Regions from separate parts of the Homo sapiens genome. Here all the other regions are linked to region 4. The links are contacts of gene promoters, found by promoter capture Hi-C in blood cells and fetal thymus (Javierre and others, 2016). All regions are on one chromosome and are shown on one strand. The core of a region is centred on a gene start or on the middle of the fragment in contact, and the rest is flanking DNA. Distances in the headings are between cores, read along the strand shown.

The links. The method cuts DNA at HindIII sites, captures the fragments that hold promoters and counts their contacts. A CHiCAGO score of 5 or more calls a contact.
Region 1: a contact is called between a fragment that was not itself captured here and the fragment with the promoter of CLECL1 in region 4, in 1 of 17 cell types (monocytes). The highest score is 5.7, in monocytes.
Region 2: a contact is called between a fragment that was not itself captured here and the fragment with the promoter of CLECL1 in region 4, in 1 of 17 cell types (monocytes). The highest score is 6.4, in monocytes.
Region 3: a fragment that was not itself captured here is called in contact with the fragment with the promoter of CLECL1 in region 4 in 11 of 17 cell types (monocytes, neutrophils, megakaryocytes and 8 more); the score reaches 11.9 in monocytes.
Region 5: a contact is called between a fragment that was not itself captured here and the fragment with the promoter of CLECL1 in region 4, in 1 of 17 cell types (monocytes). The highest score is 9.4, in monocytes.
Region 6: a contact is called between a fragment that was not itself captured here and the fragment with the promoter of CLECL1 in region 4, in 2 of 17 cell types (monocytes and neutrophils). The highest score is 6.5, in monocytes.
Region 7: a fragment that was not itself captured here is called in contact with the fragment with the promoter of CLECL1 in region 4 in 1 of 17 cell types (total B cells); the score reaches 5.9 in total B cells.

The regions. Positions count from the first base shown.
Region 1 is chr12:10,115,032-10,119,182 of GRCh38, reverse strand. It overlaps CLEC7A (C-type lectin domain containing 7A), which reads left to right. Exons shown (of 6, transcript NM_197947.3): 6 at 593-2,406. The coding sequence ends at 725. It overlaps LOC105369655 (a long non-coding RNA gene), which reads right to left and starts at 3,820. Exons shown (of 4, transcript XR_007063208.1): 1 at 3,640-3,820. The HindIII fragment of the contact is 3,256 bases long and covers 1,271-4,151 here.
Region 2 is chr12:10,042,391-10,046,289 of GRCh38, reverse strand. The region is part of intron 2 of CLEC9A (C-type lectin domain containing 9A); the gene reads right to left. It also overlaps the pseudogene LOC100421202. Among named protein-coding and RNA genes, the nearest start is that of CLEC9A, 14 kb to the right of the region's middle. The HindIII fragment of the contact is 2,846 bases long and covers 303-3,148 here.
Region 3 is chr12:10,144,641-10,148,852 of GRCh38, reverse strand. No RefSeq gene overlaps it. Among named protein-coding and RNA genes, the nearest start is that of CLEC7A, 17 kb to the right of the region's middle. The HindIII fragment of the contact is 6,553 bases long and covers 1-4,212 here.
Region 4 is chr12:9,731,193-9,735,411 of GRCh38, reverse strand. CLECL1 (C-type lectin like 1) reads left to right here and starts at 2,315. Exons shown (of 2, transcript NM_001441815.1): 1 at 2,315-2,463. The coding sequence starts at 2,382. The HindIII fragment of the contact is 6,540 bases long and covers 1-4,219 here.
Region 5 is chr12:10,080,302-10,084,119 of GRCh38, reverse strand. CLEC1A (C-type lectin domain family 1 member A) reads left to right here. Exons shown (of 6, transcript NM_016511.4): 3 at 2,707-2,883. Among named protein-coding and RNA genes, the nearest start is that of CLEC1A, 17 kb to the left of the region's middle. The HindIII fragment of the contact is 805 bases long and covers 2,017-2,821 here.
Region 6 is chr12:10,161,450-10,165,658 of GRCh38, reverse strand. The region is part of intron 3 of OLR1 (oxidized low density lipoprotein receptor 1); the gene reads left to right. Among named protein-coding and RNA genes, the nearest start is that of OLR1, 8.6 kb to the left of the region's middle. The HindIII fragment of the contact is 2,011 bases long and covers 1,169-3,179 here.
Region 7 is chr12:9,358,730-9,362,486 of GRCh38, reverse strand. No RefSeq gene overlaps it. Among named protein-coding and RNA genes, the nearest start is that of LINC02367, 6.9 kb to the left of the region's middle. RefSeq lists an enhancer at 150-399. The HindIII fragment of the contact is 2,764 bases long and covers 1-2,632 here.

The DNA of each region.
Region 1 (4,151 bases), core at 1,649-4,148, 380 kb before region 4:
AGATTGAAGACCAAACTGAACAGGACCATGCCTGCATTTAGCAGTGTTGATTTCCATAACTGTCAAGCATTGTATTGTAATATAATTCTGCTTCCAGGATACATTAAAATATACAGAGTTGTTTGCCCTGCCTTTAAATGGCCTGGGCATCTCTGATTCTCTTTTTAGTTCTAGATCTGTTTTAGCATTAATGCTTCTGCTTGGTCTACTCATTAAGTATATCCAGTAATAATTTAATTAAACTGTTACTTGATTTGATAAAGAAACATTTAAGTAATAGGCTGAAAGATATATAAAGAACTTTTTATAGAATATTAAATGATTTTTCTTCTTTGTCAGGAACTTTTTTTTTAGTTTATGCAGCTAGTAGCAGTTCTTGAAAAAAAATTAAGTCGTTTTTCTGCCTTAATAATGGAGACTATTCATTTAACCACTTGAGATTCACAACAATTTAGATTTAAGCCTCCTTTTCCAATAATAGAAACACTTCAGAACTCTTTTCACCAATATCCTTACTAATTTATTTGTGCGCCATGTAGACAGTATTCCTTAACATTTGTTCTAATTACCTCACTGTATTCTATTTTAACAGATTTCAGATCAGAACCACAGCTACCCAAGAAAACCCATCTCCAAATTGTGTATGGATTCACGTGTCAGTCATTTATGACCAACTGTGTAGTGTGCCCTCATATAGTATTTGTGAGAAGAAGTTTTCAATGTAAGAGGAAGGGTGGAGAAGGAGAGAGAAATATGTGAGGTAGTAAGGAGGACAGAAAACAGAACAGAAAAGAGTAACAGCTGAGGTCAAGATAAATGCAGAAAATGTTTAGAGAGCTTGGCCAACTGTAATCTTAACCAAGAAATTGAAGGGAGAGGCTGTGATTTCTGTATTTGTCGACCTACAGGTAGGCTAGTATTATTTTTCTAGTTAGTAGATCCCTAGACATGGAATCAGGGCAGCCAAGCTTGAGTTTTTATTTTTTATTTATTTATTTTTTTGAGATAGGGTCTCACTTTGTTACCCAGGCTGGAGTGCAGTGGCACAATCTCGACTCACTGCAGCTATCTCTCGCCTCAGCCCCTCAAGTAGCTGGGACTACAGGTGCATGCCACCATGCCAGGCTAATTTTTGGTGTTTTTTGTAGAGACTGGGTTTTGCCATGTTGACCAAGCTGGTCTCTAACTCCTGGGCTTAAGTGATCTGCCCGCCTTGGCCTCCCAAAGTGCTGGGATTACAGATGTGAGCCACCACACCTGGCCCCAAGCTTGAATTTTCATTCTGCCATTGACTTGGCATTTACCTTGGGTAAGCCATAAGCGAATCTTAATTTCTGGCTCTATCAGAGTTGTTTCATGCTCAACAATGCCATTGAAGTGCACGGTGTGTTGCCACGATTTGACCCTCAACTTCTAGCAGTATATCAGTTATGAACTGAGGGTGAAATATATTTCTGAATAGCTAAATGAAGAAATGGGAAAAAATCTTCACCACAGTCAGAGCAATTTTATTATTTTCATCAGTATGATCATAATTATGATTATCATCTTAGTAAAAAGCAGGAACTCCTACTTTTTCTTTATCAATTAAATAGCTCAGAGAGTACATCTGCCATATCTCTAATAGAATCTTTTTTTTTTTTTTTTTTTTTGAGACAGAGTTTCGCTCTTGTTGCCCAGGCTGGAGTGCAACGGCACGATCTCGGCTCACCGCAACCTCCGCCCCCTGGGTTCAAGCAATTCTCCTGCCTCAGCCTCCCAAGTAGCTGGGATTACAGTCAGGCACCACCACACCCGGCTAATTTTGTATTTTTTTAGTAGAGACAGGGTTTCTCCATGTCGGTCAGGGTAGTCCCGAACTCCTGACCTCAAGTGATCTGCCTGCCTCGGCCTCCCAAGTGCTGGGATTACAGGCGTGAGCCACTGCACCCAGCCTAGAATCTTGTATAATATGTAATTGTAGGGAAACTGCTCTCATAGGAAAGTTTTCTGCTTTTTAAATACAAAAATACATAAAAATACATAAAATCTGATGATGAATATAAAAAAGTAACCAACCTCATTGGAACAAGTATTAACATTTTGGAATATGTTTTATTAGTTTTGTGATGTACTGTTTTACAATTTTTACCATTTTTTTCAGTAATTACTGTAAAATGGTATTATTGGAATGAAACTATATTTCCTCATGTGCTGATTTGTCTTATTTTTTTCATACTTTCCCACTGGTGCTATTTTTATTTCCAATGGATATTTCTGTATTACTAGGGAGGCATTTACAGTCCTCTAATGTTGATTAATATGTGAAAAGAAATTGTACCAATTTTACTAAATTATGCAGTTTAAAATGGATGATTTTATGTTATGTGGATTTCATTTCAATAAAAAAAAACTCTTATCAAAAAACCCATGGCCTCTAAATTATGTGCCTGTGTGTCACAATCACTATTACAATTTGCCCTCTCCCCAAAAATGATGATGAATTTGGTATGGGTGGAGTGGATATTTATAGTAGATATTTTGATATTAAAGCATTAATTCGCGATCTTAAAAATTTTAAAAACCTAAGAGAAGATAAAGATCTTTGTGAGGTTTACTATTGTTGTTTAATATGCAAATTTGTTTTCATTACTTAAAAACATGTAGAAAGGGAAGAGATAGATAGGTGCAGCAAACCACCATGGCACATATATACCTATGTAACAAATCTGCACGTTCTGCACGTGTATCCCAGAACTTAAAGTACAATTAAAAATACATACATAAATAAATAAATGATGTAATGTATAATAAACATAAAAAAAGAAAGGGAAGAGATAGATCAGGCTGAGAACATGAGGAGTATGGTTAACTGTTTTAAGTAGTTAAAGCATAGGATGGAGTTTGGAAGAGATATCTAGTATTTTAATTTTGGTTTTGTTTTGATTCATTCCTCCTGGGTCCCCAGGATATAGTGGATGACTCCAAGAAATTATGGTAATCAAGGTAAATAACTGGATGCTGAAGATCCAGCTGTACTAATCTAGTGAACAGACAGGCCAGGCAACCTAACCCATGACGTGGGTATCACGAAAGTGACGGTGTAAAGTAAGATTGCTCTACGTTGTGCAAGACATACAGTACCTGACCTGTTGAGACACGTTTATATCACAGCTTATATGGAAATATACGTTAATAAACAGAAAACATCCACCCTTTTCCAAGAGACAGAAAACATCCACACTTTTCCAAGAGACAGAAAACATCCACACTTTTCCAAGAGACAGAAAAGGTGAAATAGCTGCTAGCCGAACCTCAGTCTGAAAGTTAAATTCGAGATGAGTAATGGTCACACCAGAGGACATGCTCAGGGGCCACCATGTTCACTTGTTTGGCTTATAGCAATAATTTTTGAAGTCGTCTCTGAGCCTTCACCCTCACCCTCTACAGTCTATTTTCAAACAAATCAGAGTGAGACCATTAAATTTAAATAAAATCATGTCGGTTCTCCACTTAAAATTCTCATCAACTTCTCATGTATCTCAGAGTAAAAACAAAGCAACATAAAAAAGAAATACCTTTGTAATTATCTATAAGACGCTACATATTCTGGCCCTCTTAACTTTGAGCTAATCTCCTACTTCCTTCATCTTTACTCACCGCACTCAGGACGCCGGCTTCTCTGTTGTTTCTCAACCATGTCAGGCGTGCTTCCACCTCAAGGTATTGGTGATTCTTATCTGCTTTACCTGAATGATCCTTTTATTTTTTTGAGACGGAGTCTCGCTCTGTGGCCTAGGCTGGAGTGCAGTGGCGCGATCTCTGCTCACCGCAAGCTCCGCCTCCCGGGTTCCCGCCATTCTCCTACCTCAGCCTCCCGAGTAGCTGGGATTACAGGCGCCCGCCATCACGCTTGGCTAATTTTTTTTTGTATTTTTTAGTAGAGACGGAGTTTCACTGTGTTAGCCAGGATGTTCTGGATCTCCTGACCTCATGATCCGCCCGCCTCGGCCTCCCAAAGTGCTGGGATTACAGGCGTGAGCCACCGCGCCCGGCCTGAATGATTCTTACCCGACAAAGCTGCAGGGCCTGGCCTCTCACCTCGTTTCCATCTCTGCACAAACATGACCTTCTTAATGATGCTTACTCACATAACTATTTAAAGTTACCAA
Region 2 (3,899 bases), core at 476-2,975, 310 kb before region 4:
GGGGTTGGCGATGGTAATACAATAGTAAATGCAAAAGTCACAGTGCCTGTTCTTGTAAAGTTTCTGGTATAATTAACACTACAAAGTTTTATTTTAAGTTGTAGAACTGTGAGGTATAAATGGAGGATGTATTATTCCTATTTCAAGTATGAGAAAATGGAAGTTAAAAAATCTATGTGACTTGTTCATGATTGTACTTTAAGTGACATTATCTAAATTATTCTACCAATTCCAAGTTTAGTATTCTTTTTGTTACGTCACGCTATCTTTCAAACTTAGATATTCTGCACACATTTTAAGCTTCGATATTTTGCCCAACTTAATTAAGCACTAATCTATATTGTCCTGATTTTAATCTTATATGTGTATATATGAAGATGCAGTAAATCATATTATATTCAGGTAATTAGAAATTAGACAAGAAGAAAGAAAATTAAGGGAAAGTAGAATGATTGAGAAGCAAGTGATCAATTTACATGTTGGGTTCTGGATATTCAAAGAAGGGAGTAGGTAAGTGATTCTGGTAGTAAAGATAATACTAAAAATGACATCAAAGGAAGAAAGGAAGAAATAACCAATTTATGGCTATTGATTTCTTCATTCAGAACTTTTATTGGGCAATAAAGCCCTTATCTGTGATATCCTGCCCCTTTCCTTGCATTAAGGTAGCTGGTCCACCTTGGCCATGCCAGCTTTCCTCTCACACATTAAATAATGTTTGTTCTCACAGAAGGTAGAGTGCCTTTTCTGATTATGAAAATAGGCACAATTCATATTTCCTTTTCCATCTTCAGAAAGCCCAAACCTGTGAATGGGAAAGGTAGAATAAATTCCTTCAAAAACTAAGGAAACAATCAACAATCAAACTCTGTGTATAGTATTTTGATGCACAAAATGGAGACTCTGGGGAAAACAGTAAAAAAAAAAGTTTCTCATTGTTGAGTAGCTCCCAACCTGCTTGGTAGTACAAGGTATGTATATCTGAAAAGCTCAGTAGCAGTTTCATGTAGCATAAGATTAAGGAGCAAGGGAACACTAGTACAATAGGAGCCCCAAAGAAGAGATTGAGATAGCTCTGAAATAATGGGAAAAGGCTTTATCTACAAGATCAGACTTTAGTTGGTATTGATGGAAGGGCAGGATTTAGATGAACAGGACAAAGAGCTGCAATGGATGGGACAGGAGACAGGAGATGGACAGGACAAGTATCTGCAATGGATGGGAATAGGTTCATGGAAAAGTGAGTTGATTCAATATTTTTGAGCTGAGGATTTATGTTACAGGATAGATGATCTAAGACAGCATGCTGTATTGTAATGGCTGTTAACTTATCTTTATTCTCTTCTAGACCGTTTATCACGAGAGGACAAGGAATATATATTTATTAGTTTATTTGGCATATATCTACATAACTATGTGACAAAGTTGTTCTATGGGCTGAGGATAGACTGGTACAGAAAGGCAAGAAAGCCAAGGGCTTTCCTGTTGGGGAACTTCCATTTCAGTGGGGTGATGCCAGTAAGAAGCCCACAAATAGACAAGAAAATTTCTGACAGTGGTAAAGTTACAAAGAAACAAAACAGTGGTAGACTGTGTGGATGTGGGCTGAAGGGAAGCTAATTTAGTTTGGGTAATTAGACTTAGCCTCATTGAAGAAGTGATGTTTAAATAGAGACTTGATTCACAAGAAGGAAACAGTCATGGAGTTGTGGAGGCAGAGCATTCTAGGAGAAGAAAATAGCAAATGCAAAAGTCTTGAGATAAAAAAACGAGTTTGATTTGTTGGAAGAATAAAAAAAACCCCACTAATTTGTCTGCAATATTGTGAATGAGGCAGCAAGTAATAGGAGATAAAGCCCATGGTCTGTGAAGAGTTGTAGCTGTAGTATCCTGAGATCCTACCTATAGTAAATACTTCCTAAATATTTATTAAATAATTAATGGTGCAAGTAATGATCATATTGTACAAGATTTGGTTATCCATTTACATTTTAATTGGAGAGAGACTGCAGTTTTGATATATAGGATGGACAAAAGATGTTGAGACTGGACATTGGAAAACCACATAGGAAGTGACAAAAGTTCACAACCTGGTGCTAACAGCCTATTTGCCTGCATCATGTGTAGAAGGATAGAGCTTCACTAATGGACATTGGAATTATCTTGTGAACCCCAATGTATCTAATTCTTGGAGACTTGAAGGATAGAAGAGTAGGCAAAATGCCACCGAAAAGTCAAAAGACTCTCAAGTTTACAACTTTCAACTGTAACAAAATAAGGATGAAATTTTGTTTAAAAAATATATGGAGAGGGCCAGGCGCGGTGGCTTATGCCTGTAATGCCAGCACTTTGGGAGGCTGAGGCAGGCGGATCATGAGGTCAGGAGAGGGAGACCATTCTGGCCAAGATGCTGAAACCCGATCTCTACTAAAAATACAAAAATTAGCTGGTGTGGTGGCGCGTGCCTGTAATCCCAGCTGCTCAGGAGGCTGAGGCATGAGACTCACTTGAACCCAGGAGGTGGAGGTTGCATTGAGCCAAGATCGCACCACTGCACTCCAGCCTGGTGATAGAGCGAGACTCCATCTCTCTCTCTGTCTATATATATATATATATATACATATATATGCAGAGAATCAGAGCAATTTAAAGACACACACACACACACACACACACACACTGTTCCATGGTAAAGATTAATATAGAAATGAATGGGAATAATATCAGGTATAAAAATGGGTTGTGGCTTAGATAAAGAGTTTAAGAATGGGAGAGGGGAAGGTAGAATTGTCTTATGACCAGTGCTCTCTTGTTTGAAGTAGGGAGTAAGTGACTCAGCTGCTGATTATATAACCCATAGTAGGTTATAGAGACACATTTCAATTATTAAGTGACTTGGACTGAGATGAGAGCGGATCTCAAGAATAAGTTTCTAGTATTACTTTCTATTCTGAGTGTCGGGGACTTACATATTTTTTTAGAGAACTGAGCCATCTCCCACTTACAGACCTCATTAGAGTTCTGGTGGGATAATCTGACCCAATGAATTAAACCAGTCCTGGCTTTGATGTATTCCTATTGTAAACATAAATAAACACAATGGTCAGAATCCCTCCACAGCTGTTGATAATGACATAAAGACAAAGCTTTATGATAAGACCCTGGACAAAAAAAAAAGTTGGATTACATGTCTATATTAATGTATTTCATTTGATATTTGAATCTGTGCCAATTTCACTTGTCTTAGAACTTAAAAAAGCTTGTAGGATGCAGGTAAAATTGTACACAAAATAGCTGAAATTCTAATGTTCCTATGTGTTTATAACATATATTTATATCTTCAATCAATTGAGGATTATACTTTCAGACTACCAAACATGACTCAAAGGAATAAATGTGAACAGAGAAAGAAAACACAAAGAAATACATTATTGGTGAGCTTTATATTCCTTAGATTTAAAACTCTACATGGTTTGGTTTTATTGCTTAGCTTGCCTATAAAATGTTCCCTATAGAAGTATTAATTTGTTTTAGTTGAGTAAAGGAGTACATAATGTCTTTCTCAAAGGGATTTATTAATAACATACATCTACCTTTCCTGGTTTACTTTTCTCTAGTTAGCAATAATCACTACCTACTATACTGTATAGTATGTTATTTGTTTGGCTTCTTGGCTGTTGCTTCAATTAAAATCTATGCTCCTTGAGCTTAAGGATTATTTTTTCTGTTTTATTAACTGCATAGGTCCAAGTCCTGGAATAGTTTCAGCACATATTTGTTGAATTAATGAAGGAATAGGTAAATCAATCAATATATGAGTAGGAAAATTAAATGGAGGACAAATGTTTATATACTCTCACACCTCCCAAAATAACAAGTGAGAATGCATTGTTGGCAAA
Region 3 (4,212 bases), core at 763-3,262, 410 kb before region 4:
AGAAATTAGACAATCTACAGAATACGAGAAAATGTTAGTAAAGTATGCATCTGACAAAGGTGTAATAATCCAGAATCTATAAGAAATTTAGGCCAGGTGTGGTGGCTCACACCTGTAATCCCAGCAATTTGGGAGGCCAAGGTGGGTGGATCACCTGAGGTCAGAAGTTCGAGACCAACCTGGCCAACATGGTGAAACCCCATCTCTACTAAAAATACAAAAGTTAGCCAGGTGTGGTAGCACGCACCTGTAGTCCCAGCTACTCAGGAGGCTGAGGCAGGAGAATCACTTGAACCTGGGAGGTAGAGACTGCAGTGAGCTGAGATTGCACCATTGCACTCCAGCCTGGGCAACAAAAGCGAAACCCCATCTCAAAAAAAAAAAAAAAAAAAAAAAGAAGCAGCAGCAGCAGCTTAAACAAATCAGCAAGCAATAAACAAATAACCCCATTAAAAAGAGGCAAAGGACATGAACAGACACTTCACAGAAGAGGACATACAAGCGGCCTACAAACATATGAAAAAATGATCATCATCACTAATCATTAGAGAAATGCAAATTAAAACCACAATGAGACACCATCTCTCACCAGTCAGAATGGCTATTATTAGTCATAAAACAACAGATGGTGGCAAGGCTGCAGAGAAAAGAGAATGCTTATACCCTGTTGGTGGGAATGTAAATTAGTTCAGCCACTATAAAAAGCAGTTTGGAGATTTCTGAAAGAACTTAAAACAGAACTATGATTCAATCTGAAAATCTCATTTCTGGATATATATCTGAAGGAAAATAAATCACTCTACCAAAAAGCACGTGCACTCGTATGCTCATCACAGCACTATTCACAATAGCAAAGACATGGAATCAACCTAGGTGTCCATTGACAGTGGATTGTATAAGGAAAATGTGGTACATATACACCATGGAATACTACACAGCCATAAAAAAGAATGAAATCATGTTGTTTGCAACAACATGGAGGCAGCTGGTGGCCATTATCCTAAGTGAATTAACATAGGAACAGTGAACCAAATACTGCATGTACTCACTTACAAGTGGGAGCTAAGCATTGAGTACGCATGGACGTAATAATGAGAACAATAGATACTGGGAACTACTAGAAGGGGGAGGGAGGGAGGAAGGGAAATGTCAGCTGAAAAACTACCTATTGGGTACTATGCTCTCTTCCTAGGTGACAGAATGATCTGCACTACAAACCTCAGCATCATGAAATTTACCCATGTAACAAACCTGCATATGTACCCACTGAATCTAGAATAAAAGTTGAAATTGCTGTCTAAAAAAGCTCTTTGTTTCATTGACTTTGTCTATATATTTTTGTTTCCTATTTCATTAATTTCTACTTTGATTGCTATTGTTTCTTTTTTCTACTTAGTTGGGTTTTAATTTCTTCTTTTTCTTGTTTCTTAATATGGAAGCTGAGTTCATTAATTTGAGGCATTTCTTCTTTTTTATATAGTCATGCAGTGCTTTAAACTTTCCTTTAAATATTGCTTTAGTGGTATACAACAGATTCTGGTATGGTAATTTTTCACATTTATTCAGTTCAAAACACTTTCTAATTTCCCTTCAAATTTCCTCTTTGATTCATTGATTATTTAGAATGTGTTAATTTCCAAATACTTGGGAATTTTCCAGAAATCATTATACTATTAGTTTCCATGTGAGAAGAAACATTTTTAATGACTTAAACCCTTAAATTTATTGAGACATTTTATGGCCAAAAATATGATCTATCTTGGCAAATTTTCCATGTACACTTAAAAAGAATATGTAATCTGTTGTCGTTGGATGGAATGTTGTTAAAATGTACATCAAATAAATGCGGACAATAATTTGATTCAAGTCTTTATTTATTTATTTAGTTTTGAGAAGGTGTCTCGGTCTCTGTCGGCCAGGCTGGAGTGCAGTGGCGCGGGTGCAACCTCCGCCTCCCGGGTTCAAGCGATTCTCCTCTCTCAGCCTCCTGCGAAGCTGGGATTACAGTCATGTGCCACCATGCCCGGCTATATATATATATAGTTTTTTGAGACAGAGTTTCGCTTTTGTCCCCCAGGCTGGAGTGCAGTGGCGCGATCTTGGCTCACTGCAACCTCCGCCTCCTGGGTTCAAGAGATTCTCCTGCCTCAGCCTCCCGAGTAGCTGGGATTACAGGCATACACCACCATGCCCCTCTAATTTTTGTATTCTTAGTTTCGTCAAGTTGGCCAGACTGGTCTTGAACTCCAGACCTCAGGTGATCCACCTGACTCGCCTCGCAAAGTGCTGGGATTACAGGCATGAGTCACCATCCCCAGTCTGGTTGAAGTCTGTTATATGCTTGCTGATATTTTTTGTCTATTATCATATCAATTATTGAAAAAGGAGTATCTAACCTTTGATGATAATTATGATTTTGTCTACTTCTCCTGTAGTTCTATCAGGTTTGCTTTGTATATTTTAAAGCTCTGATAATCAAGGCATAAATATTATGGATTTTCATTCTCTCTTGATGAACTGACCTCTAACCAAGTAAACTTTTTTATTCCTGTTAGTAATGTTTGTTCTGAAATCTATTAGTCTGAAATTAGTACAGCCACTCCTGCTTTTCTTTGATTAATATTGGCATGATATATCTTTTTTTATCCTTTTACTTTTAACCTATTTTTTTGTCTTTAAACCGAGTATATTCCTTTTAGCTGACATAACATTTGGGCTCGCTATTTTACATCATTTAACAATTTCTTTTGGGTGTTTAAAACATTTACATTTAATGAAATTCTGATTAATTATACTTAAGTCTGTCATCTTGATATTTGTTTTCAATTTGTCTCCTTTGATCTATTTCCTATTTCTTTTTCCTCCTTTTTTTTTTTTTTTTTTAGACGGAGTCTCGCTCTGTCGCCCAGGCTGGAGTGCAGTGGCCGATCTCTGCTCACTGCAAGCTCCGCCTCCCAGGTTGATGCCATTCTCCTGCCTCAGCCTCCCAAGTAGCTGGGACTACAGGCACCTGCCACCATGCCTGGCTAATTTTTTGTATTTTTTAGTAGAGACAGGGTTTCACCATGTTAGCCAGGATGGTCTCGATCTCTTGACCTTGTGATCTGCCTGCCTTGGCCTCCCAAAGTGCTGGGATTACAGGTGTGAGCCACCGTGCCCGGCCTCCTGAAGAATTTTTTAAATGTTTTCTCTACTGAAATTCTGTTTGTGATTAATTCTGATTTAAGATGTCTGAAAACATTATTATTTCATCTGTACTTTTAAATGATATTTTCACTGGGTGTAGAATGCTAGGCTGACAGATTTTTTTGTATACTTCAAAAATGTTACTCCACAGTCTTCTTACTTGTATTATTTCTTATGACAAATATTCTATCATTCTTTGTTTCTCTGTACATAATTATCTATGCTTTTGTTAGATATTTTATTTTCGTTTTGTCACAGGGTTTATGCATTTTTTATTATGATGTGCCTTGGTGAAGTTTTTTTGTTTGTTTCTTGTATTCAGAGTTCTTTAGCTTTTGGATCTATTGTTTTACATTTTTCATTAGCTTTGAAAATGTTAAGCATTATTTTTTCAAATATGTTTTCTGCTCCAACCTCTACCCCACTCCCACACACTGTTAAGGGATTTAATACACGCGTATTAGGCGCTAGAAATTATCTCCCAGCAACCTAATGCTCTGCTCTGCCCTTTCCCTCCCGTCCCCTCCCCTCTCTTACTTTCCGCTTCTCTTCCCCCTGCCTTCTTTCCTTTCTATTACTTTCTGTTCTTTCTCCTTCTCTTTTCCTTCTTTTTTTTTTTTTTGAGACAGAGTCTCACTCTGTCGCCCAGGCTGGAGTGCAGTGGCACGATCTCGGCTCACTGCAAGCTCCACCTCCCGGGTTCATGCCATTCTCCTGCCTCAGCCTCCCAAGTACTACAGGTGCCCGCCACCACGCCCGGCTAATTTTTTGTATTTATTAGTAGAGATGGGATTTCACCTAGATAGCCAGGATGGTCTCGATCTCCTGACTTCGTGATCCACCCGCCTCGGCCTCCCAAAGTGCTGGGATTACAGGCGTGGGCCACCGCGCCTGGCCTCTTTTCCTTCTTTCTTGCTTGCCTTCCTTCTTTTATTTTACTTTTCTTTCTTCTTCCCTTTCTTTCTTTTCCTTTTAAAATTATATTCTCTCGGGGCTTCATTTTTAATAGTGACTCTTGTTATATCT
Region 4 (4,219 bases), core at 1,066-3,565:
AAATTGATCTGCTGAATCCCAGCTGCCTTTTTCATGGCAGAAATTGACATACTTACCCTAATTTTTTAACACTCTTTTAATACTCTACATGCTAGTAATTTTTTTACTTTTATATGACTAGATCATCAGTCATATTTTTCTTTTTTGAGACGGAGTCTTGCACTGTCTCCAGGGCTGGAGTGCAATGGCGCGACCTCAGCTCACTGCAACCTCTGCCTCCTAAGTTCAACCCATTCTTCTGCCTCAGCCTCCCAGGTAGCTGGGATTACAGGCGTACGCCACCACGCCCGACTAATTTTTTATATTTTTAGCAGATATGGGATTTCACTATGTTGGCCAGGCTGGTCTCGAGCTCCTGACTTCATGATCCGCCCGTCTCGGCCTCCCAAAGTGCTGGGATTACAGGCATGAGCCAGGGCACCCGGCCCATCAGTCATATTTTTCATATGAATAAAAGTCTACTTTTTAGTGAAAAATGATTATTCTCATTCTGGAAAACTGTTATAGCCTAATTATAACATTCAGCATAGCATAACTGATTTGGTAATTCAACACATAATTACTGAGCGGCTGTTATGTTTCACACAAAACTAAGTGATGAAAATAAAAATAATAAAATGTGAGTCTTACCCTCAAAATCTAGACAGCATAGTTGAATTATGGCATGGACTTAGAACTCAGTTATCACTCTTAAAATGTACTGGTTATGCCTTTGGGAGGCTGAGGCGGGCAGATCACGAGGTCAGGAGATCGAGACCACCGTGAAACTCGTCTCTACTAAAAATACAAAATATTAGCCGGGCGTGGTGGCGGGCGCCTGTAGTCCCAGCTACTCGGGAGGCTGAGGCAGGAGAATGGCATGAACCCGGGAGGCAGAGCTTGCAGTGAGCCGAGATCGCGCCACTGCACTCCAGCCTGGGTGACAGAGTGAGACTCCGTCTCAAAAAAAAAAAAATTATTGGTTATGCAACCACCTGCAGATAATAAAACCTCTAAAAGTCAGTTTTTCATGTATGTAGTAGGTATTGTCTAGTCACATACAAACAGTTGGAACAGCCCAGAAAAGGGAGAGAGTGTCATGCAGTCTTAAGAGACAGAGGTCGGTGCTCAAGCCTCATCCAGGGTCAGAAGTTGGTCTTTATAGGAGGGATCCCTAAATGCCACAAAGCCAGGATCTGTTCTCTAGTTATTTAATTAACCTAAGTTAAATTTCTTGGATGAGGGGTAGGGATGGGGTGACTGCAGTTTAGATTAATTCTGCAGAATGCACTTGAGTGGGTATTGAAAAAACCAGTTTTTCCATATGCAGATTTCCAGTTAATCTACTAGTCATAAGCTAATGGATCCTGCCATTTTTCATATCTGACATTTCTATGTCCTATGACGGTTTCACAGGTAGCTAGGCTCTCCTCCATTATTTCCCTCTGTATGGTGTTGGCTGCATTTTTCTCTGATTTTACTTCTTCATCAATGATCACATCTCCATCTACTCTCCATTTTCCAGGAATTAGTTGAAATTTTTCATCAACTAATAGGACCCTGAGCCTTTGTGTTATTGTTTTAGACTAACAAATTTTTATTCACTTAATTCAATTTTAGTGGAATTTTAGAAGAAATAGGAGATAAAATCTATGTTTGCTATGTTGTATTCGATAGTAAATTTCTGAACACCTCATTTTAAAATTAGATTTTTTTCTTTTATGTCATTACCTTGAATTATTTTAACAGAGTTATTTCTGTTTCTTAAATATATATTTTTTAGTTCAGAAGTCCTCTGCATAATTCATGTTTTACCTCAGTTTAATGTTAATATTATAAAGCATACAGGAAAGCAAATAGCTTTCAGAATTTTTAAGGTATTATCTAGACAATACAATGCATTTAGAGAGGAGGATAAAAGACATAGGGCCCCTTTCTGTAACTTTCGTAATAAAATCCCTTCTTTTTCTTGTTCTGTTTCCCAAATAGCTATCCTACTTTGGAGAAGATGCTGGAAATTCAGAGTTTCCGCCAGAGAATATATGCCTGAACTAAAAGAGGAAGTGGTCTATAGGAGAAAATGGTGAGATATCTTCTGTGGTATTAATAAAAGTTAAAAGCATTTCAAGTTTAGGCAGAAAACTAACTGAAAAACGAGAACCTACTGTATGGTTAGTAATTTCTTCCATGTCATACAAGTATTCGAGAAATCTGCTACCTTGATTAGTAAGACTGAACACATTGGTTTTGTCATTTATTCATGGAGGAAGTCCACCACCCACTTGGGGAGCAGAAGGAAATTTGCCATCTCAATTTACTTATCAGAAGTTTCTTTGCAGAAATATGATTGTCCCTTCAGTGGGACATCATTTGTGGTCTTCTCTCTCTTTTTGATCTGTGCAATGGCTGGAGATGTAGTCTACGCTGACATCAAAACTGTTCGGACTTCCCCGTTAGAACTCGCGTTTCCACTTCAGAGATCTGGTAAGCTGGATTTAGGGTGCCTTTGAGAATTAAGATTTTACTAGTTATCTCCTTTATTTCTTTCTTATGTATCTAATTGCCAAACTGAAAAGAGGAGATTGGATTCAAAGCAAAATTCATTGAATGCTAAGAATAAGAGCGAATGTTTTTAATGAAGCAAAATGTCTGTTCATAAAATAAATTGCCACTTTGGTTTTAATATGTAGAACTTTGCTTCTGTTTTCATAGCCTTTCTATTTCTTGATTTCTCGTGATGAATGTTTATATTCACACAGCAACTTCTAGCGGGATCACGCCTTTCTGCTCCACAGCTTTGCTCACTCTCAATCAAATCTGACCTTTTAACATAATGTGATAAATTCATCTCCACTGGGAAAAATACCTGTGGCAATTTACTCATATTGTTATTTATTCTTTTACAATATCAATAGGATAAAAATGTAAACTTAAGAAAACATGAAACGTTAGATTTAATTTTATAAAGTCTAGAATTAATGACTAGGTAATTGAATATTTCTGGAATCAGAGGCGATAAGCATATGCCTAAACTTAACATGGTGCCTTCATCACCAAACCCCCTCAAAAATTATAGATTTTCATAGCCAGTGTCTTTTCTATTCTTTGAAGTATTAAGGAAATTTCTCTGTCTTGTTACATTTCCATTCTCTGCTCTAGGGTAAGAATTTTTGTAGCATAGAGTTTATGTAGGTGTTTTAAATAATTTAAAGTTCCTCCTTTGTATTTGCCCTTGTGGAATGAATCTGCTACTTTGTTCGTATTTCCAAGGAATGTATTTCTTCTTTATATTTTCAAAAGTTTATAGTTATCAAAGGAATCTAGTGTGTGTCCTTTTCTGGTTGTAAAAGCATCTTGTTTCTTATTTTAAACCTTACCTCTCTATTTTACCCAGCAGAGGCTAACTTGCTTTCTTTTCTTCCAGCTTAGGCACTTTCACTTCCTATGAAATAGTGAAACATAATTTGAAAAATAACATGGACTAGAACTGCACTGTCATTCCCCTATGCTTCAAAAATGTCCTGTAGTTAGTTTCTTTTTCTAGAGGTTATTTTACTCAGTTTAAGCAACAAAACCAATATTTTTGATTCCGCATTCCAGGGTTTAATTGCCTTTCTGTCTATGGTTTGAACTTTTATAAATAAAACCTTATTCTTTTCCCAGTTTAGGGATGTGGGGCAACATCTTTTAATGTGATCTAGTTCAATCTTAGAATGCTAAAAATGAGAAAACGAACTATATGAAGATTAAATTACCTACCTATAGTCATGCTTATGACCAGAAGTCAAATATCATATTGTTCTTGTGCTGTATACGTGTGGTGTTAGATAAACGCAACTTTTGTTCTCATGCGTCACTTCGCCATCAAGCGAAAGAGCTGTTGGATAGATTAGATTTTTGTTGTCTTACATACAGAGTCCTACACAATTGTTCCTGATCTCTTCTAACCTCATACCTTTCACTGATTTTGCTCTGGCTATTGGCCTTTTCTTTTCTCCTAAAGGTTGTCATATTCCTTACCATTTCAGAGCCTCATAAAATGCTGAATCTTTCTACATAATCTATTAATCTTTGTGTTTCTAGCACCTCACACCGTACTAAATATAGAGCAGGAAATTAATAGATGCTTGATAAGTAAAATAATTTATAAATGGCTGAATAAATAAATGAATCGCATTAGACGATGAATGTATATATGTATGCTCATTGGTTCTCCAAGATGTAAAGCATAAAGGAATGT
Region 5 (3,818 bases), core at 1,170-3,669, 350 kb before region 4:
TCAAATAAGTTTTCCAAACTTCTAGATTTCTCTTCTTCCTCAGAAACAATTATTCTTAGGTTTGGCCATTTACTATAACTCCAACTTACTTGGAGACTTTGTTCATTTTTTTTTTTCTATTATCTTTGTCTTTGTCAGATTGGGGTAATTCAAAAGCCTTGTCTTCAAGCTCTGAAATTCTCTCTTCTCCTTGTTCTAGTCTATTGTTGAAACCTTCTACTGCATTTTCTATTTCTCTAAGTGTGTCTTTCATTTCCAGAAGTTGTGATTGTTTTTTCTTTACGATATTTATTTCTCTGGATAATTTTTTAAATCCATATCCTATATTGTTTTTTAAAATTTGTTTAGGCCGGACATGGTGGCTCATGCCTGTAACCCCAGCACTTTGGGAGGCTGAGGAGGGCAGATCTCCTGAGGTCAGGAGTTTAAGACCAGCCTGGCCAACATGGTGAAACCCCATCTCTACAAAAAATATAAAAATTAGAGAGACATGGTGGTGGGCACCTGTAATCCCAGCCACTTGAGAGGCTGAGGCAGGAGAATCACTTGAACCTGGGAGGTAGATCCAGGTTGCAGTGAGCCAAGATCACACTACTGCGTTCCAGCCTGGGCAACAGAGTGAGATTCTGTCTCAAAAAGAAAGAAAGAAAACCATAAATAAGTTTCTTAAGTTGGTTTTCACTTTTCTCTGGTATCTCCTTGAGTAACTTAATAATCAACCTTCTGAATTCTTTATCTGGCAATTCAAAGATTTCTTCTTGGTTTGAATCCATTGCTGGGGAGCTAGTGTTACCTTTTGGTGGTGCTATAGAATCCTGTTTTGTCATATTACCAGAATTATTTTTCTGTTTCCTTGTCATTTGGGTCTATTGGGTATTTCAGTGAAAAGATCTGGAACACACAGGCTGCTGTTCAGATTCTTTCATCCCATGGGGTGATCCCTTGATGTTGTGCTCTCCCCCTTCCCCTAGGTCTAGGGCTTCCTTAGAGCCAGACTGCAGTGATTGTTATTCTCTTCTGGGTCTAGCCACCCAGTGGTGCTACCAGGCTCCAGGCTGGTGCTGGGGAATGTCTGCAGAGTCCTGTGATATGATCCATCTTCTGGTCTCCCATCTGTGGATACCAGCACCTGCTCTGGTGAAGTTGGCAAGGAGGTGAAGCAGACTGTGTGAGAGTCCTTGGTTGTAGATATGTTTAGTGTGCTGTTTAGTGTGCTGGCTTCCTTGAATGCTGGTTATGCTAGCAGTGAAGTTGTCAGATGGATGCACTCAGGACCTCTGGTTAGCCAGGATGTTGCAGGCAGTGGAATTAGCTGTTGTCTTCTCCCTCCTTGGAGCAGGGTTATTCTGTCTTGAGTTACTCTAATGGTTTGAGTTGTTGGCCTCCAGCCAGGAGGTGGTGCTTTAAAGAGAGCACCAGCTGCAGTAGTAGACACGGGATGTAAGCTTGTTCTAAGTTTGCCAGGATGAGTATTCAGGTTTCTCAGGTGATGGGTGGGGCCATACAGCTCCCAAGTTTATGTCTTTTGTGTTTGGGTACCAGGGTGCATAGAGAAAAAACATCACATGGGATCAGGGTTAGGCAGGTCTGAGCTCCCACTCTCCTTGGACGGGGCTTGTCATGAATCCTGTGGGGGATGGGGGTTGGTTCTCAGGATTTTATGGCTGCCTCTGCTGTGTCATACAGGTCACCAGGGAAGTGGGAGAAAGCTGGCAGTGATAGGCCTTACCCAGCTCCCACATAGCTGGTGATGCAAGTCTTGCTCCCCCCATGCCCCACCAACACCACGAAGTTTATATCCTGGCAGCTCATGCCTGGGGCTCTGAACTTGCCTCAGGCTACAACCCTTCCCACTGAGAAAGCAAGCAGGCTTTCAGGCCACGCCGCTCCCCACCTTCCCACACCATCTGTCACAGTTCCTGTGCTGATATCTGTAGCAGTTCCTCTTTGCCCCCTGGATTCTGCTTAAGAAAATTCATATCCAGTTGAAATTATTACAAAATTCATTTGGAAGCTTCTTTCATCCTGTGTCTCCTCTTTAATTCCACTGGCTGCCTTGTCCAAGGACCCCTGTGAGACAAAGTCAGGGATGGCTTCCCTGGGCTTGAGCTGGAGAATGGGAGTGCCTACAGGACTCTTTCCTCTGCTTCTTCTACTTTTATATTTTGCATCTATTTTATATTTGGCTCCCTACATCCATTTCTGCTCCAGGTGAGGTTAAATCCTTCTCATGTAACCCAGATTTTCAGGTTCCCCATTAGGGATGTGTGTTCAGAGGTGGGTTTTCCCCACTTCACACATTTTTGGCTGTCTTCCAGAATTTTCAGTATTGAGTTGCTTCTTTCAAAGGATCTGTGCATTCTTTCAATTTTCCTGGTATGTTCCTGAGGTGGTTCCTGGAGGAAAAGTTCACAGTGTGAGTCTCCTCACCCTGTTCTGTTGTCCAAATGGGAGCTCTATCTTAGCCCTCTTAGCCGTCATTTTCTCCTCATGACTTCACATTTTTAGACAGACTTAAAGAAATTAATTTGCCCAAGGTGATACAACTTCTCATATATGTACTAGAGTCCAAACTTGAATATAGGCAATATGAGAACTCAGAGCCTGAGATACTAAAAAATATACTGTTTTGTCTTCCCCATAAGCAGAAAATGGAAATAAAACATAGAAATAAGCTGTCCAGTCTGACTTGGTCATTTGGGTTAGTTTTTCAGTACTACCAGCTCTCCAATACTGGTCAAGACACCATTTCTCAAATGGAAGAAAGATTAGGAAATACGTCCCAAGAGTTGCAATCTCTTCAAGTCCAGAATATAAAGCTTGCAGGAAGTCTGCAGCATGTGGCTGAAAAACTCTGTCGTGAGCTGTATAACAAAGCTGGAGGTAAGTGTGTCCTGGTCACTCTGTCCCCATGTTGTCTGGAAACAGAGAGATGGATTTCCCGCCGGTGAAAGTGAGAGTCAAGTATTATTTAACTAGAGGTCTGGCAAACTGAAAAAGGGTTTGGGCTTCAAGATCATGATCAGTTGTTGGGATCATGTGATTCATATGTGTCTGTGATACCATGCATCAAGGGACTCTTCAAATGCAGACATTTTAAAACAATAAAAACAATTAACTAAGAATAACCAAAATAAGACTACGAGTAAAGAAAATACAGGGGTATGTCTCAATTTACCTCGGCAAATGTTCTTACAAATTCTTTCCTAGTAAGAAGTAAGCAAACTCATAACTATAGTTCTCAAATCTTAAACAACATACAGGGACTAGTCTGAAAATGCAGATAACCTGAATCAAATTCAAGTTATTTTAATTCAGGATAACTTGGCTGGGTATCAAAAATATGCAGTTTAATAAGGACCACAGATGATGACAGTGCCAATGGTAGGTGAACCACCGTTGATAAAATTACTGCTGGAGAAGTCTAGGAGCATCGCTTCAGTGTGAGTGCATGTGTATTCCTATTCTCCTATTCTTTTCAGGTTTTGTGATAATCCACTTTATTCAGGTCAGCTCTCTCTTCTGCTCTCTTTATCATGCTTACTTAGGAAATGGCATACATGTTCAGGTTTCCACTTTTTATTTCTTTTTTAGGAACTCTGAAGGAGGGCAAAGTCTCCTCATCTACTATACACACACCACTTCCCACCTGAAACAGACATCCTGATTGCATGGCTATGCAGGAGAAAATATTAATAGGCACAGTTTTACTTCTCTAAGTGATTCTTTCCTACATAACTAATGACCTCAATGGTCATAATGTCCTTATTTACTAATTTTTCTTTTTCCTTTTTTTGGGGGTGGGGGGAGATGGAGTC
Region 6 (4,209 bases), core at 925-3,424, 430 kb before region 4:
CTCCCTAGTAGCAGTTTTGACATTTTTCTTGAAGAATTCTGCCACCCCCACCCCATTCCATAGATCCTTATCTCTTTCCATTCCAATGCATTTTAATCACTGTATTTCTTTTTCTAAGGGATCTTTTTGTCCTTGCAACTGTCTACCCCTAACTCTACATTAGCTCACTCTGTGGCATTATTTCTTAAAGTGTACTACATCAACTTATTTTATTTGATTTCAATTTTTGGAGATGGAGTCTCGCTCTGTCGCCCAGGCTGGAATGCAGTGGCCTGATCTCGGCTCACTGCCACCTCCGCCTCCAGGGTTCAAGCAATTCTCATGTCTCAGACTCCCAAGTAGCTGGGATTACAGGCACCCACCACCACGCCCGGCCAATTTTCTTTTTTTTTTTTTGAGAGGGAGTCTCGCTCTGTCCCCCAGGCTGGAGGGCAGTGGCACATTCTCGGCTCACTGCAACTTCCGCCTCCCGGGTTCGAGGGATTCTCCTGCCTCAGCCTCCCGAATAGTTGGGATTAGAGGCACCCGCCACCACACCTGGCTAATTTTTGTATTTTTAGTAGAGATGGTGTTTCACCAAGTTGGCCAGGCTGGTTTTGAACTCCTGACCTCGGGTGATCCGCCCGCCTCGGCCTCCCAAAGTGCTGGGATTACAGGTGTGAGCCACTGTGCCGGGCCCATCAATTTAAATAGAGCCAATGGAGGTAGACTGGCTTGCAAGCCTTACGCAGATACTTCAGATTAGACAAAAATATGAGGAGTCCAAGAAGTCTATTTATATAAGAAGAAATGAGTTAATTTTAGCCGTCTAAAGGGACTCAGAATCCAGAGGCAGGCAGAAATAGTAGCATCTATAAGAAGACTATGATGTGAACTCTGATATTGTTACAGAAGCTACTGTATTATTTGGTCTTTCTGCAGTATGTCATTACATCAGGTATATGGTTTTAGGCATAGGGAGAGTTAAAAGGTGTGAGAGAGAGTCATTCAGAGGTACTTTGTTTCCTTGGAGGTGCGTAAATTAGTGCCCTATTGTCAGGATTAGAGAAAAACTTCCTCTAATAAACAGAGATCTCTCTAGCTTCTTGCTTGCACAATTTACTTAATCTCAACCACATAATTTATTTGAATAAAGAGCATATAATAATAGTTCACAGATACCTAAGCTTTTCCTTGATAGGTGGAACACTGAGACCCGGATAAAGTGAAATGATAATAAAAAGTAATTTTGTGTAAGGTTTTGCAGTTTGTAAATCCCTTCACTATTTAGAGGTCATTTACATTTTCAAAATTAGCAGAAATTTTTGAACAAAATAATTTTTAGCAAGTGTCAAACATTTTTAATCTCTTTAAAGTTGGAGCTTGCAAGGAAATGAATATACCACCTTCAAGAAGGCTTAAAGGGAGAAAGTTTATCTATTAAGGATAGGAATGTTTATAAAAGCGGACATAACCACGTACTAACCAATGGTTTATATCACAGGCAAGGCCAGAAGAGAATTTTGTCTTTATCAGTTGTATGGGATTAAATCTACATCAGGACCATTCAGAACTATCTCCCAGAGATGCCCTGGATGAACAACTAATAAAAAACAATAAGTGATATGTCTGATGCTGGCAGATATACCAAGTAACATGTTCCATTCCTTGACAGTGTCAGATAAAGGCTAATTAGTAGAGATAGCAAATAAAGTTTTGCCTTTCATCAAAGAGCATTTTTTTTTTTTTGAGACGGAGTCTCGCTCTGTCACCCAGGCTAGAGTGCAGTGGTGCGATCTAGGCTCACTGCAACCTCCGCCTCCCGGAGTCAAGCAATTCTCCTGCCTCAGCCTCCTGAGTAGCTGGGATTACAGGCGCCTGCCACCACGCCCAGCTAATTTTTGTATTTTTAGTAGAGACGGGGTTTCACCATGTTGGTCAGGCTGGTCTCGAACCCCTGATCTCGTGATCCACCCACCTTGGCCTCCTAAAGTGCTAGGATTACAGGTGTGAGCCACCAGGCCCGGCCCACCAAAGAGCTTTGAGAAGTCTTTAAAAAGTAATACTAAAATACCACATACAGAAAAAAAAAAAAAGCCAAGTTTTTCCAGTTTGAGGCAAGTTTTATCTTTTTTACTAAAAAGTCTGTGGTCTTCAATGTATATATGAGGAGGGAGAGATGCTGAGAGGTTATTATATGTTTGCTTTAGGCCAACGAGCTAGTGAGATGCAGGGCCTTTGCAGGAATAGACTTCACATTTAGCAATGGAATTTGTGGTGATTCTCAAACTTTACTGTATGTAAATAGATTGTTAAAAGTGGCAGATTACAGATTTACCTCAAGATTCTGTATCAAAATGTCTCGAGAGCAGCACCGAGAAACACTTCCTCAAATGGTTTTAACTTAGAAGTTTGAAAGGTAGTATGTTATAGTGGTGAAACACCCAGACTCTAGAGTTACATTATCTAGGTCCAGATTCTTCTCTATTTGTCAAATGAAGAAAATGACTGGAACCTATCTCACAGAGATACTGTGAGGATTAAATGAGTTAATACCTGTACAGTACTTCCAACAGTTTCTGGCACATAGTGAGTGATATTTGTGTTTGTTAAATTATATAAAAAATAAACATAGTAAGTGATATTTGTATTGTTATATAATTTAACAAACACAAATATCACTTACTCTGTTTATTTTTGTGTACACACACACACACACACACAAAGAAATACAGTAAGTTTAAATACTACATTTTGTAATGTGTCCTTCTTACTTTGTCATAACTGGGAAAACTTGCCCAGACTGTCTTTTTAGTCCACAAAAAACTTATATACATCTAAATATATTTTTTGAGACAGAGTCTTCCTCTGTCATCCAGGTTAGAGTGCAGTGGCATGATCTCAGCTCACTGCAACCTCCACCTCCTAGGTTCAAGTGATCCTTCCACCTCAGTCTCCTAAGTAGCTGAGACTACAGGCGCACACCACCACACCCAGTGAATTTTTGTGTTTTTTGTAGAAATGGGGTTTCGCCATGTTGCACAGGCTGGTCTGGAACTCCTGGCCTCAAGCGATCCACCCACCTCAGCCTCCCAAAGTGGTGGGATTATAGGCATGAGCCACCACCCCCAGCCAAAAACGTACATATATTTATATTTACATAATATGATGGGGTTAGGCAAACTAAGAAGTAAGAAGCTTGCATTGACTGCTTTCAACTTGGTCTCTTTTTCTTTTCATAAGCATCAGTTTGGTGAAAAATCAACTTAGTGTTTTGTATGCTCTTTCTCATTCACTTTTTTCTGTTTTTCAGTCCCTCCTATTTTCTCCTCTCTGATAAAGCCTACTCTTATACATTTATTTAGTGGTTTTATGCCACAGTGAGAATGAAATTAAAATGCTGCCTTTCTCAAAGATTTTAATTTTTCACCTTTTGGTTGTAGTGTAGACCAGAGTACTTTGTTTCCCCTTAAGGAGATGGGAGAGATGATGATGATGATGGTGATGATAGTGATGATTTGAGGGTTCCTGAAAGCATCCATAAACATGTAGACATTGGTATATTTTGCCTATTGTCTAAGTCCTGTTTTTGGTTTGGTGGACTCCCTGTGAATTTTGCTACTGAAAATCTCCTTATTTTCTAAAATCTCGTTTAAATTGAGATCCTCGCTTTATATTAATATACTATTTTCCCTAGAACAACTCTGTACAAAAGAAATATAGTATGTGTTTTTTATATATATATATATATATATCATTAAAATTTCTAGTAACCACATAAAAATGAAAAAGAAGCAGATAAAATTAATTTTAGAAACACATTTTATTTAACCCAAGATATTTGAAATATTATTTCAATACTAATCAGTATAAAAATTTTTAATGGACTATTTTACATTCTTTTTCTTTTTCAAATTAAGTTTTCAAAATCTTTTGTGTGTTTTACACTTATAGTACATCTTAATGCAAACTAGCCGGGTGTGGTGGGTCATGCCTGTAACTCCAGCACTTTGGGAGGCTGAGGCAGGAGGATTGCTTGAGGCCAGGAGTTCAAGACCAGCCTGGACAACATAGCGAGACCCTGTTTCAATTAAAATAATTTGTTTTAAGAAATGCAAACTAGCTATATTTCTAGTACTCAAGAATCACATATGGCTACTGTATTAGACAACACATGTCTGAAAGCAAGACACATAGTATTTAAGCCTAGATTCATTATTCAAAGATATG
Region 7 (3,757 bases), core at 1-2,500, 370 kb after region 4:
AGTGAAATTATCCTGTTTTGGACAACAGCTTGGCCTTCGACAGTTTTATCAATCTGTACAACAAAACCCCAGCACTTATTAATCCCTGAAGTATGGAAACAAATGAGGAAGGGACTGTGTCTCCTGCATTAAACACATCGATGTCTCTGTCCCACAAGAGAAGCTCTTCACGGGGCTCCTTCCATGTTTGCTGTACAGAACCTCTCAAACGAACAACCTCATTCATGTGAAAATTCCCCAGAGCGGCCACTGCAGTTTCAAATGGTGTCTCAAGAAATTGTGTCAGAGGCATAAGATGAGTTCACACGACAGTGAGGAAATCTGAAAGCAGCAGGCGTTTGGCCTGGGGAAGAGCCACGTCCGATGAAGAAGGTCGCACGGGCACCCGAGCAGTCCGAGAAGAGACTTCGTGCCTCCAGAGCTTGGTCAGAGGCCACAGGCTGATTGTCCCCAATCCTCCTGATTCCAGGCAGAGGGAACTTTAAAGTGAGCAGTTCTCAGGAACCACACAGAGACAAAGTTGAGGGGAAAATCCACCCTTAGGTATGAAAACAGTGACCTGGGGCAAAGCTCATTCCAATGAATGCTAGTCTGAGGGGAACTCCTGAGCACTGTGACCTCCAAGACCAGCTTGAGGACAGACTTCCCGGGCCCCTATCAACTACTGAATTTTCCACTTAGAGACAACGCTTAGAACATTCGACCACCAGATAGACATAGGAGCATTTCTCAGAAGGCTAGACAGCAGTTTCACCGTGGAGCGGGGCAAATCTGATCAGATCACCAGGAAAAGTCGCACAGCACCTCATTCCCAGAACAGAGCACACCTGAAGCGGAGGGGCCTCAAGGAAATATCAGCCTCCATGGGGCCTCAAGGAAATATCAGCCTCCATTCAGCCCGAGCTGCCTTCCAGCTGTGGGCCACCCGGCACCTCAGACAGAGGGAGACACCCTGTATGTCTCAGCTGTGTCCACCCTAACTGAGGCGGGGGTTCTTGTCCAAGGGGGAGGGCTTCAGCTGACTCAGGGAACCTCTATTTCTGCCAATCCTCCTAAGCTAAAAAACCACCAAGAACTCACCTGTAGCTGAACCAAAATGGGTTTATTGACTTGTTGCACAAAGGAAGAATGTCCAGCAGTAAAGAGGGCCTTCAAAAGAACTTGCTATAGATGCGGGCTCGTGGCTGGTGAGTCTCAGGAGGGCTTAGGAAGCAAGGCCTTTCTCTGGGTTGGATATCGTGCATAAAGGGACCACATGGCACAGGATTCCATTCTATGCAAAAGTGCAGAACAGGCAAATCCAGAGAGACAGAAGGTAGGTTTGTGGTTGCTGGGGGCTAGGGGAAAGAAGTGTGGAGACTGACCATGCGTATGAGGTTTCTTTGTGGAGGTGATGAAAATGTTTAGAATTAGATAGTAGTGATGGACGCACAATTTTGTGAATATATATGAAAACCACTTTAAAAGGGTGATTTTTATGTTAGGTGAATGATATCTCAATTTTTAAAAAGTGAAAATAAAAAGAGGGGCCTCAAGATTTGGTGAGCTGATAGACTGATAGCAAGAGAGGATACTAAGGAAAGACACTAAGGAACACATATTCACAAAGCAGAACCGCCCAGAGCAGCAGGCTGTCAGCCTTTATGCCAGAGCCTCTGTTGGCTTCTGTCAGTGCAACCCCGCAGACACACACAGCATCGCCATGGGCTGGCCGAGGTGCCGAGGAGCACACAGAGGACTGAGACATGGTCCCTGCACTCTGGGGGAAATGACATCTCAACACAATAATGGTGTTCATCATCAGGACCCCAAGTCATGATGAAAAGGTTAAATTATTCTCAAAATGCTCAATTGTAAGAAAGCAGAGGAGTGGATCGTAAGGAATAAATGTATGAAAAAAATTTCAAAATTGCCAACCTTTTCAAGAAATATTGAAACCTCTGGTGCAGGAAGGTAATCTGTGTGGAGTGGCAGCCAGGGAATGGGATGCTGTGTGTGTGTGGAGAGGCAAACATCCCCATAGTCTTCAGGATCCCCCGAGAGGGGCCGAGTCAGAGGCCGTCAAAGCCTCCAGTCCCCTGGGCATCCAGGGCCTCATGGCAACTGTACCAGTTGTTCTCACTTTTGTTATTCTTCCATAGAACTCAACGTGCCTCTCACGCAGGGACTCAGGATGGTGCTGAGTCCAGGTGGAGGGAAGGGGTCGGATGGGGGGCTGGGTGGGGGACATGGTGGGGGCTCTGTTGGAACCTGCCACCCTTCTGGCTCTCTACCGTGTTTTTCTTAGTTAGTGGGAGGTCTGTGAGCTCCATACCTCCAGGGCCTAGCTGTGAAGCTGTTGCTGGTGTGGATCTGTCCAATGGAGTTTGCTGGGTGGGGGAAGGTGTGAGGGAACCTCCATCTTGGAACGGCATCTCCAGAATGCAGGAGTGAGGCTGGCACACAGCACGGCCTCTGTGGACAGGGGGTCCAGGGAGGTTGGGGAGGGGCCTCAGGGATGGAGGGACAGAACTGGGGCCTCCCATTCTATCCACATCAGCCTGGTGAGTTCAGATCATCTCTTTAGCACCTTATCACCACTTCCACACTCAGGTGATTTCAAGGAACCTTAGGTCCCCAATTGCCACAAGCTTTGGGGCACAGCTCCTGCCTTGTAAAATAAATATTTTGGAGATTTTAAAGATGTAAATTCAAACTGGCTTTTGGAAAAGACAGGTTTTAAGGGATGGTTCCCATTCTAATGTCGGGGCTTTCCATCAGGCCACCCTGGGCAGAACCCGGGGGCGAAAAGAGAGAAATGAACAAAGCCTCCAAAAAATATGGGACTATGTGAAAAGACCAAATCTACAATTGACTGGTGTACCTGAAAGTGACAAGGAGAGTGGAACCAAGCTAGAAAACACTCTTCAGGATATTATCCAGGAGAATTTCCCCAACCTAGCAAGGCAGGCCAACATTCAAATTAAGGAAATACAGAGACCACCACAAAGATACTCCTCGAGAAGAGCAACCCCAAGACACATAATTGTCAGACTCACCAGGGTTCAAATAAAGGAAAAAATGGTAAGGGCAGCCAGAGAGAAAGGTTGGGTTACCCACAAAGGGGAGCCCATCAGACTAACAGCAGATCTCTCAGCAGAAACTCTACAGGCCAGAAGAGAGTAGGGGCCAATATTCAACATTCTTAAAGAAAAGAATTTTCAATCCAAAATTTCATATCCAGCCAAACTAAGCTTCATAAGTGAAGGAGAAATAAAATCCTTTATAGACAAGCAAATGCTGAGAGATTTTGTCACCATGAGGCCTGCCTTACAAGAGCTCCTGAAGGAAGCACTAAACATGGAAAGGGACAACCTGTATCAACCACTTCAAAAACATGCCAAATTGTAAAGACCATCGATGCTATGAAGAAACAGCATCAATTAATGGGCAAAATAACCAGCTAACATTGTAATGACGGGATCAAATTCACACACAAGTATATTAATGTTAAACGTAAATGGGCTAAATGCCCCTAATAAAAGACACAGACTGGCAAATTGGATAAGGAGTCAAGACCCATTAGTGTGCTATATTCAGGAGACCCATCTCAAGTGCAGGACACACATAGGCTCAAAATAAATGGATGGAGGAAGATCTGCCAAGCAAATGGAGAGAAAAAAAAAGCAGGGGTTGCAATCCTAGTCTTTGATACAGCAGACGTTAAACCAGTGAAGATCTAAAGAGACAAAGAAGGCCATTACATAATGGTAAAGGG